2 separate regions of the Homo sapiens genome follow, and region 1 is linked to region 2. The links are contacts of gene promoters, found by promoter capture Hi-C in human tissues and cell types (Jung and others, 2019). All regions are on one chromosome and are shown on one strand. Each heading gives the region's core, a stretch centred on a gene start or on the middle of the fragment in contact. The rest is flanking DNA. Distances are from core to core; before and after follow the strand shown.

The links. Contacts are between HindIII fragments. The study calls those that stand out against the background at their distance.
Region 1: a contact is called between a fragment that was not itself captured here and the fragment with the promoter of POU3F1 in region 2, in 1 of the 25 tissues and cell types used here (heart left ventricle).

Annotation. Positions count from the first base shown.
Region 1 is chr1:39,136,770-39,140,094 of GRCh38, reverse strand. It overlaps a transcript of MACF1 not described here. Among named protein-coding and RNA genes, the nearest start is that of MACF1, 66 kb to the left of the region's middle. The HindIII fragment of the contact is 5,998 bases long and covers 1-3,325 here.
Region 2 is chr1:38,044,616-38,048,170 of GRCh38, reverse strand. POU3F1 (POU class 3 homeobox 1) reads left to right here and starts at 1,378. Exons shown (of 1, transcript NM_002699.4): 1 at 1,378-3,555. The coding sequence starts at 1,428. The coding sequence ends at 2,783. It overlaps MIR3659HG (MIR3659 host gene), which reads right to left and starts at 1,037. Exons shown (of 5, transcript NR_168386.1): 1 at 557-1,037. RefSeq lists enhancers at 74-574, 575-1,075 and a silencer at 988-1,317. The HindIII fragment of the contact is 7,503 bases long and covers 1-3,555 here.

The DNA of each region.
Region 1 (3,325 bases), core at 85-2,584, 1.1 Mb before region 2:
ATAGTCCTAGCTACTCAGGAGGCTGGAGTGGGACAATCTCTTGAGCCCAGGAGTTTGAGGCTGCTGTGAGCCATGTTTACACCACTGCACTGCAGCCTGTGCAACAGCCAAGACCTTGTCTCTAAAAAAAATTAAAAAAAAAAAAAAAGATTTAGTTCTAATTATGGGTAACCTCAGGCAAGTTACTTAATCTCCTTAAGCCTTAATTTCCTCAGCTGTAAAACAGGAGTGATGAAAAACATCTGTGAGGTTCCAATGAGCTAATACATGTGAAAACATTTTGTAACAGACTCTGAATGTTGTCAGTTATTACTATTACTTTTAAGTGTATTTCTTTCAATAATATTATGTCAGTTCAGAAAGATGATATAACTTGTATCTGAGATAATCAGGGAAGGATCCACAAAAAGTAACATTTGAGATGGATATGTAAGGACCAAATATAATGTAGAAATTAAAGGAAAATGCAGGCACAGGATACAGCATGAGCAAAGGCATGAAAGCAGGAAAGCTAGGAAAAAAAAAAGCAGAAAGCACTAGTTCATTTTAGCTGGAATATAAAGAATAGTGGCAAATTTGGGAGGCTGAGATGGGAGGATCACTTGAGGTCAGGAATTTGAGACCAGCCTGGCCAACATGGTGAAACCCCATCTCTACTAAAAATACAAAAATTAGCTGGACGTGGTAGGGGACACCTGTAATCCCAGTTACTTGGGATGCTGAGGCAGGAGAATCGCTTGAACCTGGAAGGCAGAGGTTGCAGCGACAGAGCGAGACTGTCTGAAAAAAAAAAAAAACAGTGGCAGATAACATTTTAAAAAAGGTAAAGGGTAAACAAGAGGAAAAAAAATCTGTTCAATTTCCCCCCATAAGCAAGCATCTTTGGTAATTCAAGTAGGAATAAATGACGAGACAGTTGATTAAAATTAGTTTTAGTAGTTATCTGTGAATTTGAAGTATTCAGCATGCCTTGTACTCCATTTTCATAGGGTGATTAAGAGCCAGCTACATCATATGCATTAACATGGAATACTCAAAATTACGTAGTTTGTGCAGAAGCCAATTTGAAAATGATACTGTTATTCCTCATCAAAGCTTCTCCAGACAGTTCATAAAAATTATTTGGCCTAGGCCAGGCGCGGTGGCTTACGCCTGTAATCCCAGCACTTTGGGAGGCCAAGGTGGGTGGATCACCTGAGGTCAGGAGTTCGAGACCAGCCTGGCCAACATGGTAAAACCCCATCTCTACTAAAAATACAAAAATTAGCCGGGCATGGTGGCACTCACCTGTAATCCCAGCTACTCAGGAGGCTGAGGCAGGAGAATCACTTGAACCTGGGAGGCGGAGGTTGCAGTGAGCTGAGATTGCGCCATTGCACTACAGCGTGGGTGACAGAGCAAGACTCTGTCTCCAAAAAAAAAATTATTTGGCCTTTAAAACCTTTCAATATCATTATTGAAATGAGAGAAAGCTGTGTTCATCTAACACCAGCCATTTTTCTTTTTTTTTGAGACAGAGTCTCTCTCTGTCGCCTAGGCTGGAGTGCAGTGGCGCGATCTCTGCTCACTGCAAGCTCCGCCTCCCAGGTTCACGCCATTCTCCCACCTCAGCCTCCAGAGTAGCTGGGACTACAGGCACCCGCCACCATGCCCGGCTAATTTTTTTTGTATTTTTGGTAGAGACAGGTTTTCACCATGTTAGCCAGGGTAGTCTCGATCTCCTGACCTTGTGATCTGCCCACCTCGGCCTCCCAAAGTGCTGGGATTACAGGCGTGAGCCACCGCGTCCAGCCTACCACCAGCCATTTTTCAAGTGTTTGTTAGGACCTCTACTCAAATACAACATGAAGTACACTCATTTTTGTTTTGTTTTGTTTTGATTCGTTGTTTTTGTACAAGAAAGTATTTCAACAAGATCCTTGAGTGACAGGTAGCACATAATCCAGAGTAGCACAAATTTGTTGAAATAGAAATTAAAGCTTCCAATACTGTTTCAGACTTTTTTTTTTTTTTTTTTTTTTTGAGATGGAGTCTCGACTGTTACCCAGGCTGGAGTGCAGTGGCACAATCTCGGCTAACTGCAACCTCCGCCTCCCAGGATCAAGCAATCCTCCTGCCTCAGCCTCCCTAGTAGCTGGGATTATAGGCTCGTGCTACCATGCCCGGCTAATTTCTGTATTTTTAGTAGAGATGGGGTTTCTCCATGTTGGCCAGGCTGGTCTCAAACTCGCGACCTCAGGTGATCCACCTGCCTCGGCTTCCCAAAGTGCTGGGAATACAGGCATGACCCACCACGCCTGGCCTCAGACAAATTTTTTTAAGTTTTGTATGTTCATATAGTTGAATGAGATAATGCAATACTTTTAATTGAGCAATCCTTACTTGCTTGCCAAAGAGCATCTGAAGGTAAAAAAATAAAAAATAAATAAATTGGGGCACAGTGGCTCATGCCTATAATCCCAGCTCTTTGGGAGGCCAGGGCAGAAGGATGGCTTGAGCCCAGGAGTTTGAGACCAGCCTGGGCAATAAAATGAGACTTCGTCTTTACAAAAAATTTAAAAATTAGCCAGGTGTAATGGCACATGCCTGTAGTCTCAGATACTTGAGAAACTGAGGTGGGAGGATCTGTTGAGCCTGGTAGACACGTTACAGTGAGCTATGATTGTGCCACTGCACTCCACTCTGTGCGACAGAGCAAGAACCTGTCTTTAAAAAAATAAAAAAAGACTGGGTATGGTGGCTCACGCCTGTAATCCCAACACTTTGAGAGGCCGAGGCACACAGATCACTTGAGGCCAGAAGTTCGAGACCAGCCTGGCCAACATGGCAAAACCCTGTTTCTAACAAAAATACAAAAATCAGCCAGGCGTGGTGGTGTACATCTGTAATTGCAGTTACTCAGGAGGCTGAGGCATGAGAATCTCTTGAACCTGGGAGGTGGTGGTTGCAGTGAGCCAAGATCGCACCACTGCATTCCAACGTGGGCAACAGAGGGGGCTCTGTCTCAAAATAAAATTAAATTAAATTAAATTAAAAAAATAACAAACTTTGAAAAAAGTCAATTTTTAGTTGACAAAGGGTAAATATAACTTGGTCATGTCAAATATTTTATATTTAAAATCCAACCTTCAGTTTTGCAGAAAGTTGCATGAGGAAAAAACATGAACTTCCAAGAAACAAGTAAAAGTTAAACTTCAAATTTCAAACTGAACACTCTCACGCTTGTCTTTATTCTACTGTCATACAAGTGCCCCCTACTGTCGTTCATATTTAATCTGTTTCTCTAAAATAGATTCTTTTTTAAAATTCATTTTTCTTTAGTAAT
Region 2 (3,555 bases), core at 129-2,628:
CCAAGGTCGGGTAAGAAGGCACAAAGGAACTGCAGTGAGGTCCGACTCCACTCAAGATCCTTCAGGGAGTCCTCAAGGGCTGGGGCGTGAGGAGGTAGCTAAATTCCACTGCCCACCTTTCCAACAAGGCCTCCTCAATCTCAATTCCCTTTTCAGCAGCTCCAGGCAAGTCCGGGCAAACTCTAGCCCAGGGCTCTTAGCGAGGCTGGACAGCTCCCGGCCTGCACGCCGGATTTCTGGAGAGCCCGAGCCCCTTCCCTGAGCCCATCCTTCTCCTCTCCCGGGGCGTGATCCCACCACGACCACAGCCGATGAGCCGTTCAAGCTGGGAGAAGGAGCGAGAAGGCTGCAGCGGCGCAGGTCAGATACCCCTGGGCCCAACGTCCACCCCCAACTAGCGCCCTTGCCAGCAGCGTTTTCCCCGGAGCCACAGTCTCCACCTCGAGATCTTCTCCTTCTGGAACCCCGGAGCGCGGCCGGGTACCAGGGGCTCGCGTAGGACTGTAGAACCGCTGCCGCCCGCCGTCCCAGCCCCAGCTGCCCGCGCGGTACTCACCTGGGCCTCAGTGCCCGGGAGAAGGTGTGCCCGCGCGAGGCGTGAAGCCAGAGTCCGTCCGACTCCGCCCGCACCGGACGCGCTCTCAGGGCAGAGGAGGTCGGCGGAGTTGTGACGCTGGGACTAGAGGAAGGAGAAGGAAAGCCGAGACGGGCCGGGCAGACGCGCCGAGGAGCGCCCAGTGCACGCTGGCAGCCGCGGGAGGCGAGGCGGGCGCGGTGAGCAGTCGCGCCGGAACCGAGCCGCGAATCCGCGCCGCCTCGCGCTCGCAGCCGCCAGGACCCGCGGGAATCCTGGTCCGCCGGCAGCGGTACTGAGGAGGGAGGGGCGCGGGGCTGAGCCGCTTCTCGGAGCCCGAGCGCCTCCCGGAGCCGGCAATCCCTGCTGCCCGGGCGGGATGCGGGCGGGAATTCAGCTCGCGTGGAATGTGGGACCGGCCGGGCTCGGAGTCTCCAGCGCTGGGGGAAAGCGGGGCCCACACAGCCAGGACGAGAGGGGGTGCGGTCCCAGGGCCACCCCCGCGCCACTCCCCACGTGGCGGCCGCGCCCCCGGGGCGTGAGTGTGTACGCGGACGGTAGGGGGGCCGTGAATGAAGCCCCAGCGGCCAATCAGCACGGCCGGCGCGCGGGACCCCGGGAGCGACGCCCAATGGAGAGCTCTGGGCGGCCGGGCAGGGTGGCGGGCGGGCGCGCGGGGCGGGGGCCGGGCAGGGGAGGCGGGAGGCAGCTCCGCGGGCAGCCAATGGGCGGCGGGCGGGGTGGGGCTCCGGAGCGCCGAGCGGGTCGGGGCTTTAAGCCGGCGGAGCGAGGCGGCGGGGCCCGCAGACGGAGCGGAGCGGCGGCGGCGGCGCGGCGCAGGGCGCGGGGCGGCATGGCCACCACCGCGCAGTACCTGCCGCGGGGCCCCGGTGGCGGAGCCGGGGGCACCGGGCCGCTTATGCACCCGGACGCCGCGGCGGCGGCGGCGGCGGCGGCGGCCGCGGAGCGATTGCATGCAGGGGCCGCGTACCGCGAAGTGCAGAAGCTGATGCACCACGAGTGGCTGGGCGCGGGCGCGGGCCACCCCGTGGGCCTAGCGCACCCCCAGTGGCTACCCACGGGAGGAGGCGGCGGCGGCGATTGGGCCGGCGGCCCGCACCTAGAACACGGCAAGGCAGGCGGCGGCGGCACCGGCCGAGCCGACGACGGCGGCGGCGGCGGAGGTTTCCACGCGCGCCTGGTGCACCAGGGGGCGGCCCACGCGGGCGCGGCATGGGCGCAGGGCAGCACAGCGCACCACTTGGGCCCGGCCATGTCGCCCTCGCCCGGGGCCAGCGGGGGCCACCAGCCCCAGCCGCTCGGGCTGTACGCGCAGGCGGCCTACCCGGGGGGCGGCGGCGGCGGCCTGGCCGGGATGCTGGCGGCGGGCGGTGGCGGCGCGGGGCCGGGCCTGCACCACGCGCTGCACGAGGATGGCCACGAGGCGCAGCTGGAGCCGTCGCCGCCGCCGCATCTGGGCGCCCACGGACACGCACACGGACATGCACACGCGGGCGGCCTGCACGCGGCGGCGGCGCACCTGCACCCGGGCGCGGGCGGCGGCGGCTCATCGGTGGGCGAGCACTCGGACGAGGATGCGCCCAGCTCGGACGACCTGGAGCAGTTCGCCAAGCAGTTCAAGCAGCGGCGCATCAAGCTGGGCTTTACGCAGGCCGACGTGGGGCTGGCGCTGGGCACGCTCTACGGTAACGTGTTCTCGCAGACCACCATCTGCCGCTTCGAGGCCCTGCAGCTGAGCTTCAAGAACATGTGCAAGCTCAAGCCGCTGCTCAACAAGTGGCTGGAGGAGACCGACTCGTCCAGCGGCAGCCCCACCAACCTGGACAAGATCGCGGCGCAGGGCCGCAAGCGCAAGAAGCGCACGTCCATCGAGGTGGGGGTCAAAGGCGCGCTCGAGAGCCACTTTCTCAAGTGCCCCAAGCCCTCGGCGCACGAGATCACCGGCTTGGCAGACAGCCTGCAGCTGGAGAAGGAGGTGGTGCGCGTCTGGTTCTGCAACCGGCGGCAGAAGGAGAAGCGCATGACCCCTGCGGCCGGCGCGGGCCACCCGCCCATGGACGATGTATACGCGCCTGGGGAGCTAGGGCCTGGCGGGGGCGGCGCATCGCCACCCTCCGCGCCCCCACCGCCCCCGCCGGCGGCGCTGCACCACCACCACCACCACACACTGCCCGGCTCAGTGCAGTGACCCCGCGGGCCGGGCCCCCGCCGGCGCGCTGCAGGGCGCGGGCGCGCAGCCCGCCCGCGCGGCCTGGACTCTTTTTGTTCGGTTGCTTTGGATTTTACAAAAAAAAAAAAAAGCCCAGAAACTTTCGAACAAAACCAAACACCCGGACGACCCTCTCCGGTGAGCGGCGAAGACAGCCCGGTAGGCTGCGTCGCCCGAGCCCCGGGAGAGAGGAGCGAAGATCCGGAACTCGCCAACTCACCCCGGGCATCCTGCCCGCCGCCTGCTCTCTGCCCCCATCCCCTCGACGACCCCCGCCCCTGCCCCCCCGGGCTGTTCGGGGCCGGATCCCGGCAGCGGCCTCCCCAAAGCGACAGGTAACGCAGTGCGGGGTTAGGGATTCCCCGGGAGAGAGGACGAAGCGAGGAGAGTTCTCCATCCCCTCTCCCCGCGTGGACTCCTGAGCCTGCGGGTCCAGGGTGGGGGGCTGTCACTTTATTCGCTACACGCCTCTTCTCTCCTATAAGGATGCGCCCCACCCCGCTTTCCCCTTTCTCCGGGCTTGGTTTTTTACGGTTTTTATTTATTCGTGGAGCCTCTCGGCTCCTGGGGTCCTTCTAACTCCGCCCGCGCCCTTAATTTAAATCGCAGTATACTGTATTTATCGGGGCCCCGGAGGGGAGGTCGCGAGAGCCGCGTCTGTGTATAAAAGCAGGAAATAGCCAAAGCTTTAATCTAGCCTAATTTATTTTTCCCCTTATATTTCCCTACCCTACCCTCCCCCCAAAAAAAA